Linked DNA regions of Homo sapiens: region 1 is linked to region 2. The links are contacts of gene promoters, found by promoter capture Hi-C in blood cells and fetal thymus (Javierre and others, 2016). All regions are on one chromosome and are shown on one strand. The core of a region is centred on a gene start or on the middle of the fragment in contact, and the rest is flanking DNA. Distances in the headings are between cores, read along the strand shown. Region 1 has its middle 21 kb from the start of KCNJ12. Region 2 holds the start of DHRS7B (dehydrogenase/reductase 7B).

Region 1 (4,121 bases), core at 1,317-3,816, 230 kb after region 2:
ACAGGCGTCTAAACAAGCACCACCACAGCCATGTTCACACAGGGCTGCTCACTGTCGCCAAAGGTGGAGATATCCTAACATCCGTCACCTGATGGACGCAAAGTGAAACACGGTCTGTCCACACAGCAGAGCATCATGCAATCATCACAAGGAAGGACATGCTGGTCTATGTTGCAACACGGATGAGCCTCACAGCATCATGTTGAGTGAAAGCAGCCAGGCGCAAGAGCGTGCATGCAGGATTTCATTCACAGGAAACACCAGTGGACAACTATTCTCAAATTCATTCATTCCACCAGGTCACTGAGTGCCTACTGTGTGCCAGGCACTGTGCTGGGCACTGGGGGTAAGCAGGTCCCAGAACATCCGTGTCCCAGGGGAGCAACATTCTAGTGGAGAAGACAAAGGCAAAAGTGCCAGCGTGTTCGCAGAGAAATTCACAGAGACAGAAAGCAGATTGGTGGTTGCCAGGGGCTGAAGGGAGGGGAAATGGGGACAGGGTTTTCTGTTGCGGTGATGAAAATGTGTTGGAACTAGATAAAGGTGGTGGTTGCACAACATTATGAGTATAATAAATTCCACTAAATGATTCATTTTAAAAAATACATTTTAAAAATAGAGACAGAATATTGTTATGTTGCTTAGGCTGGTCCCGAACTCCTGGCTTCAAGCAATCCTCCTGCCTCGGCCTCCTGAAGTACTGAGATTATAGGCATGAGCCACTGCACCTGGCCTGTTCACTTTGAAATGGTTAATTTTACATTATGTAAATAGTACCTTAATTAAAAAAAATAAACCTGCCCGGCACGGTGGCTCACGCCTGTAATCCCAGCACTTTGGGAGGCTGAGGTGGGCAGATCACAAGGTCTGGAGTTCGAGATCAGCCTAGCCAATATGGTGAAACCCTGTCTCTACTGAAAATACAAAAATTAGCTGGTTGTGGTGGCACACGCCTGTAGTCCCAGCTACTTGGGAGGCTGAGGCAGAAGAATCGCTTGAACTCGGTAGGCAGAGGCTGCAGTGAGCCAAGATTGCACCACTGCACTCCAGCCTGGCGACAGAGCGAGACTCCATCTCAAAAACAAACAAACAAACAAAACAACAACAAAAATAAACCCATCAGAGAGACCATCTTGCCCCTGCTTAAAACCTTCCAGCTGTTCCCCATAGAACAAAAATATAAAGTTCAAGTCTTGTGCTGTGGCTCTCAGGGTCCCGTGATCTGGCTTAGCCTCTCCCTGACTCGGGGCCAGCGCTCTGTTTCTCTGGGCTCTCTGTGTGAGTGGCCATGCTCTGTCCTGCCTCCAAGCCTTGTGCCTGCTGACCACCCCCACTCAGAATGGAACACTCTTTTTCCATCTCTGCACCAGTTTTCACGTCTCCTGTCAAACATCCCTCTTTGGAGAGGCCCTCACTGACCTCCCTGGCTAAGTAGCCGCTCACGCCTCATTCGCCACCCTGCTACCCTGACCTTCATACCTTGACCTCTGCCTGAAACTGCCTCCTCTGAAGTTTACGCATCTCCATTTTTGTTGTCTGTCTCCTGCACAAGAAGATCAGCTGCACAAGAACAGGGGCTTTTGTCTCTTTTGTGCCCTGTTATGTCTCCAATGCCCAGATCGGGGACTGGCCCAGAGCAGGTGTTCAGCAAAGGAATGAATGAATGAATGAATGAATGAATGGAAGTTGGCTCCCATCTTTCCAGCCCTGCCTCCAACACCTCCAGCGAGACTGTGGTTCCTCTTCTCACAGTGGATTCCCACCCCCAAGCCGAGCCCAGGGCCCCTCGCGGGCATTTGGTGAAGTTATGGCCGTGTCCTGTTGCCCTTGCGTTAATGCTGCAGTGTCTGGCCTGGTTTCCCAGTTCTTTCCCTTCCCCAGCCGGCCCAGCTGTCAATTCCCACCACCCTCAACCCCCATCACCAATGCCGGTGCTTGCGCCCACCACAGACAGGTCCCACTTCCAGGCCCTGTGCCTACCTGAGGCCACTGTGAGGCATGTGGTGAGACTGACCTTGCCGGCAGGATTTGAGGGGAGCCAAGAAGCCAGCTTGGGAGGCATGACAACCGCAGTCATGGATGTTGCCACGAGGACCTGCATGTCCTTCACTATTATCCCTCTTGACCCCTGGTTGGGTGATAACTGACCTTATTTTTCAGATGACAAAATTGAGGCTCAGGAAAGTTAAGATTGTGCTCCAAGGTCACAGAGCAGGGAAGGGACGAGCTGCAATGGCTGCTGCACTTCCCTTATGGTAATAGCCTTATTATTCCTGTTGCTGCTGCTGGGTCCTGGGCTCCATCTCCAGGAGCCTTTCCCCTCGGCCCCTCCCACCCCTCCAGAGCCTCAGGCCACTCTTGCTGAATAAGGGTCTAGCCATTTACTGACCTGGGGCTGGTCCTCATCTGGAAAGCGGGATGGTGAGAGGCGGTAATGAGGGACCTGACACGTGGACGGGATCTGGGAAACGGCCGTAACAGGCCGTCCTTTCCTTTTCTCAGGGCTCCTGCCTGTGTGGAGAGATGATGGCTCCCCACCACTGCCACCTCCCCCACACCCCTGCCCACCCACGTCTCCCGCTCCCCGGGCTCACAGTCTGGGTAGAGGCTGTTTCAAACAGAAGACCAAGCATCTGCGGGAATCCAGACCAGACCCTAAGCCAGCTCCAGAGGGCTTCCTGGGGGAGAAGAGTTTTGACAAGAGTATCCAAGGCAGAAGAAACAGCCTGGGCAAAAGCCTGGAGGTGGGGAAATTGAGACCTCCTGGAGGCTGAGGAAGGCTGGAGGGAGGGAGGAGAACAAAGGGCCTTAACCAGCCATCAGGTGAGGGCAGCTAGGCCTTCCCCAGGGCCACATTATGACTTTCAAGCACCCAGGGCACTTTGGCCTAAATGAGTCCATTTATCCATAAAAAATAAAAACACTAAATACAAAAAATTAGCCGGGCGTGGTGGCGGGCACCTGTAGTCCCAGCTACTCGGGAGGCTGAGGCAGGAGAATGGTGTGAACCCAGGGGGCGGAGCTTGCAGTGAGCTGAGATTGCGCCACTGCACTCCAGCCTGGGCGGCAGAGTGAGACTCCATCTCAAACAAAACACAACAAAACAAAACAAAACAAAAACACTAAAAATATATTCTACGTCTTCACTGGAATAGAGAGAAATATAATTCGTTAGTCATCCACTCACCCATTCATCCCCTGTCCATCTTTCCGTTAGTCATCCACTCACCCATTCATGCCCTGCCCATCTATCTATCCCTTTGACTCCATTCACTCACCTCGCCAACCACCCACCCATCCATCCATCCATCCATCTATTCAGCTACGTTCCATTTATTCATTTACCCACTCACCCACTTATCCATCCATCCATCCCTCCATTCATCCATCCATCCATCCATTCATCCATTCATCCATCCATCCATTCATCCATCCATTCATCCATTCATCCAGCCACTTACCCACCCATGCATCCACCCATTCATTCATCCACCCACCCTTTCACCAATTCACCAATCCATCCATTCACCCACTCATTTATTCATCCATCAATTTATCCATCTACCCACCCACCCATCCATTCACCCATTCATCTATCTGTCCACTCACTCACACATCCATCCATCTTACCCACCCACCCATCCACTTATCCATTCATCTATCTATCCATTCATTCATCCACCCACCATTCATCTACCCATCCACTCAACCATGCACCTTCTCACCAATCCCCCACCCATCCATTCATCCATCAATTCATCCATCTATCTATACACCCACCCATCCACTCATCCATCCATCCATCTTTACATCCCTCTTAGCACTCCTGCTCACCCCATTCAATTGTCTGTTTCCCTGTAAATATACTCACCCGTCTGCCCACTCATCCATCTACTCATATTCCCTCTGTTTCCATTCTCCATTATTTACTATATCAGCCTCTGCAGTCATCTCTTTTCTCTGGAGATTTCTCTAGCATCTGATCCCGACCTTCCCATCATAAGCCCTCTCTTCACTTCCCATTGCTCACAGATACAAATCCAAACTTCAGACTTAGCTGGCTTTCAAGGCCCTGAAACTATTTTGTCTCTCCTCTCACTGCTCCCACCACGGATCCTGGA
Region 2 (3,685 bases), core at 463-2,962:
TGCAACAAAAGCAGAGATTTATTGAAAACAAAAGCACACTCCACAGGTTGGGAGCCTGCCTAGCAGGTGGCTCAAGAGCCCGGTTACAGAATTTTCTGGAGTTTAAATACCCTCTAGAGGGTTCCCGTTGGTTACTTGGTGTACACTCTATGTAAAAGAAGTAGTGGCCTGTGATCAGCCTGATTGGTTGCAAGAGGGGACCAATCAGAGGTACCTTCAATTTTTCATCTGCCAGGCAGAAAAGCGGGGCAGGTTGCAAAGGGACTAGCTTCTGTTCCTTTTGTTACCTGGGCATGGAAAGTTCGGGTTTTCCTTTTGATTTAGTTCTAGGAAGTCAGCGTGAATTGGCCTTAGGTTCCCTGTCTCCAGACCCTATTTTTCTGCCTTACGGTTCATATTGGGTTTGCTACAAGGATATTCAAACTTTGTGAATTGGCAAGCAGGAATCTAGAGTTTCCAGAACAATGGAGAGGGGCCAGAAAGGTATAAAAACTTTTGTGAAAACGTCAAAAATAAATATTTAGTTAAAAATAAAATTTCCCATTTTCAGATTTTGTGAATATCTGTAAGAATTTCCAGGATATATTAATTCGCTAAAGTTAATAAAAGCAAGAAACAGAAGGACGTTTCAGAATGCTATTGTTTGTGTAACAAGGGGGTGCTGAATACATACATAATTGCTTGGTTATGAATAAACTGGCTCTGGAAGGACACACATAGCTAATAGCATCGTTACCTAGGGGGAGGTGAAGTGGGTCCTGGAGAACAGAAAGGGAGATTTTCCACCTTACACACATTTGCCATCTTATGATTTTGAACGATAAGAGTCCCCCCGCCCCTTCCTTCCTCTGCCCTGCCCCTTCCTTCCTCTGCCCTTTACTCTCTCAATATCCTCTTTTCATGCTTTTTTTTTTTTTTTAAATCACTTCGGGTCCTTTAAAAAATTTACTTGCAAGAAGTACGTACATATTCTGAATAAAATTCATTTTCAGATATATGTATTACAAATATCTTGTCTGTTCTATTGTCTTTCCCTTTTCTCAATGGGGTCTTTTCGGTGTCTTATAGTTACAGACACCCAATTTATCAGCTTTTTCCTTTAGGACTGGCACTTTTTGTGTTCTGCTAACACGTTATTTTCCTCTCTTATGGTCATAATATTCTGCGATTTTATTGTCTAGAGTTGTATTGTTCACATTCAGGTCTACCATCCGTCTAGAATTATTTTACTTGAGATAGGAGTCAAGGTTCATTTCCCCCCAATCGACCTTCAATTGACCTAGCACTATATATTGAAAAAACTCTTCTTATTGCATTACAGTGGCTACTTGTAGGAGGAAAAAGTGACTACATAGCTGCAGGTCTGTTTCTGGTCTCTCTCTTTTTCATTCATTGTTTTTACCTTTGTGCCAGTTATCACACTGTTCTGATTACTGTGGCATTATAATCATCTTGATAACTGTATCGTGAATTCTCCAACTGTGTTCTTCGCCGGAAGTCCACGGAACACCAACCACGACCTTCGGAATTTCCCTCCGGAAGATGAAGGCACTGTAGTTATGCGGGTGGACCCTATCAGATCTCGGGTCCATCGGGTCCTGTGTACACCTTGAGGGACGCCCACCCAACGCGCATGCGCAGCCTCAATGCTGGGATTGGACGGAGCCTCGCCGGCTGCGTACACGTCACTTCCGAGGCGGGAGGATGAAGTTGATTGACTATGGTCTCTCCGGCTACCAGGTAGGGGCTGGGGAAGAAGGAACCTCCGAGATGAGGCGATAGGGTCTGGCCTTGAGCTGAGGCGACGCCCCGGCTTGGGTGAGGGGAAGCGGTGTAGTGGTCGAGCTAAGGCCGCGGGCCCTGGGCGGCTTCCGGATCCCCGCGACGCCGAACTCTGAAGGAAGACTCAGCCCAGGCGCTGGGACCAGAGCCCTGGCTCCGGCGAGTGCGTGGCGGGGAAACCCGCCTGTCGCCGAGGTGTCTTGAGTCCAGTTTCCGCTGCTGGGAATGGGTGTCGCGCCGGGCGCTGTGTGTGAAAGGCCTCGCGCCCACAGGGCTCCTGGCTTCAACCTGTTTATTCCCACATTTCTGCGCGACGTAGGGGAGGCTCCGCAGCGTCTGCGAGTGGCAGGACCGAGGGTTGAGCGCTGGGGGCCAGTGGCACCTTAGCCAGTGACGGCGAGTTAGGACTAGCAAAGGAAGTCCGGTTTTTCAGAAGGCAGGAGGAGGGTGCTGACTCGAGCGTCCACGGGAATGGCTGGTTGAGATATCTTGCTCTTCCAATACTTACTCTGCGGCTTCCTGGCTGTGCGGCTTTGGGCAAATGTTTTAAACTCTGAGTGTTTCTTCAGCTGTAACTTTGGGAGTAACAAGCCCACTCATAAGGTTGTTGTGAAGCGTAAATGAGACTGCGCGTGCAAGGTGCTCAGCTGGTGTCTGGCACATAGTAGGTATTCAACAAATGGTAGCCACATAATGCTCTTTTTTTCAGTTTCCAAACCTTCCATGTAGTGATTGGAGAATCGTGAAGTTACTTTTGAAGTAACGTTTGGGTTTCACACACTCATACATTTAGTAAGCAGAATTCTTGCTTACACTGTTGCCGATTGCAACGGTGTGTTTGCATAATGGAAGCTATGTTTGTGCCTTTGCCAAGGGTGTGGAATATGCCTTCCCTACCATGTACATGTCCCCTTTTCTCCATTCCTTAATAATAGTTGATATTTTTTGAGTGTTTGCTATGTTACAGGCACTGTACTAATCCCTTTACTGAATTATTCAATCCTGTAATAACCCTAATCATAGGAACTATAATTTTTATTTATGGAGGGAGAAATGGGCTTAGAGATGTTAAGAAGTTTATCCAAAGGCATAGAGCTATTAGCCAGGCAAGGTAGCACACGCCTGTAGTCCCAGCTATTTGTTGGGGCTGAGGCAAGTGGATTGCTTGAACCTGGGAGACAGGCTGCAGTGAGCCGAGATCACGCCATTGCATTCAAGTCTGGGTGACAAAGTGAGACCCTGTCTTGGCTGGGCGCAGTGGCTCACACATGTAATCCCAGCACTTTAGGAGGCTGAGGCGGGCGGATCACCTGAGGTCAGGAGTTCGAGACCAGCCTGGCCAACGTGGTGAAACCCCGTCTCTACTAAAAAATACAAAAATTGGCTGGGCGCGGTGGCTCACGCCTGTATTTCCAGCACTTTGGGAGGCCAAGGCGGGCGGATCACGAGGTCAGGACCTCGAGACCATCCTGGCTAACACGGTGAAACCCCGTCTCTACTAAAAAAATTCAAAAAAATTGGCTGGGCTTGGTGGCGGGCGTCTGTAGTCCCAGCTACTAGGGAGGCTGAGGCAGGAGAATGGCGTGCTCCGGATGGCGGAGCTTGCAGTGAGCCGAGATCCCGCCGCTGCACTCCAGCCTGGGCGACATAGTGAGACTCTGTCTCAAAACAAACAAACAAACAAAAATTAGCCGGGCGTGGTGGTGGGCGCCTGTAATCCCAGCTACTCGGGAGGCTTTGGCAGGAGAATCGCTTGAACCTGGGAGGCAGAGGTTGCAGTGAGCCGAGATGCCGCCACTGCATTCCAGCCTGGGCGACAAGAGCGAGGAGACTCCGTCTTAAAAAAAAAAAAAAAAAAAAAGTGACACCCTGTCTCAAACAACAACAACAACAACAACAAACA

The links. The method cuts DNA at HindIII sites, captures the fragments that hold promoters and counts their contacts. A CHiCAGO score of 5 or more calls a contact.
Region 1: a fragment that was not itself captured here is called in contact with the fragment with the promoter of DHRS7B in region 2 in 1 of 17 cell types (neutrophils); the score reaches 7.4 in neutrophils.

What each region holds. Positions count from the first base shown.
Region 1 is chr17:21,353,305-21,357,425 of GRCh38, forward strand. No RefSeq gene overlaps it. Among named protein-coding and RNA genes, the nearest start is that of KCNJ12, 21 kb to the right of the region's middle. RefSeq lists an enhancer at 3,956-4,121. The HindIII fragment of the contact is 8,001 bases long and covers 1-4,121 here.
Region 2 is chr17:21,125,252-21,128,936 of GRCh38, forward strand. DHRS7B (dehydrogenase/reductase 7B) reads left to right here and starts at 1,713. Exons shown (of 7, transcript NM_015510.5): 1 at 1,713-1,740. The coding sequence starts at 1,721. RefSeq lists an enhancer at 1,375-2,034. The HindIII fragment of the contact is 14,531 bases long and covers 1-3,685 here.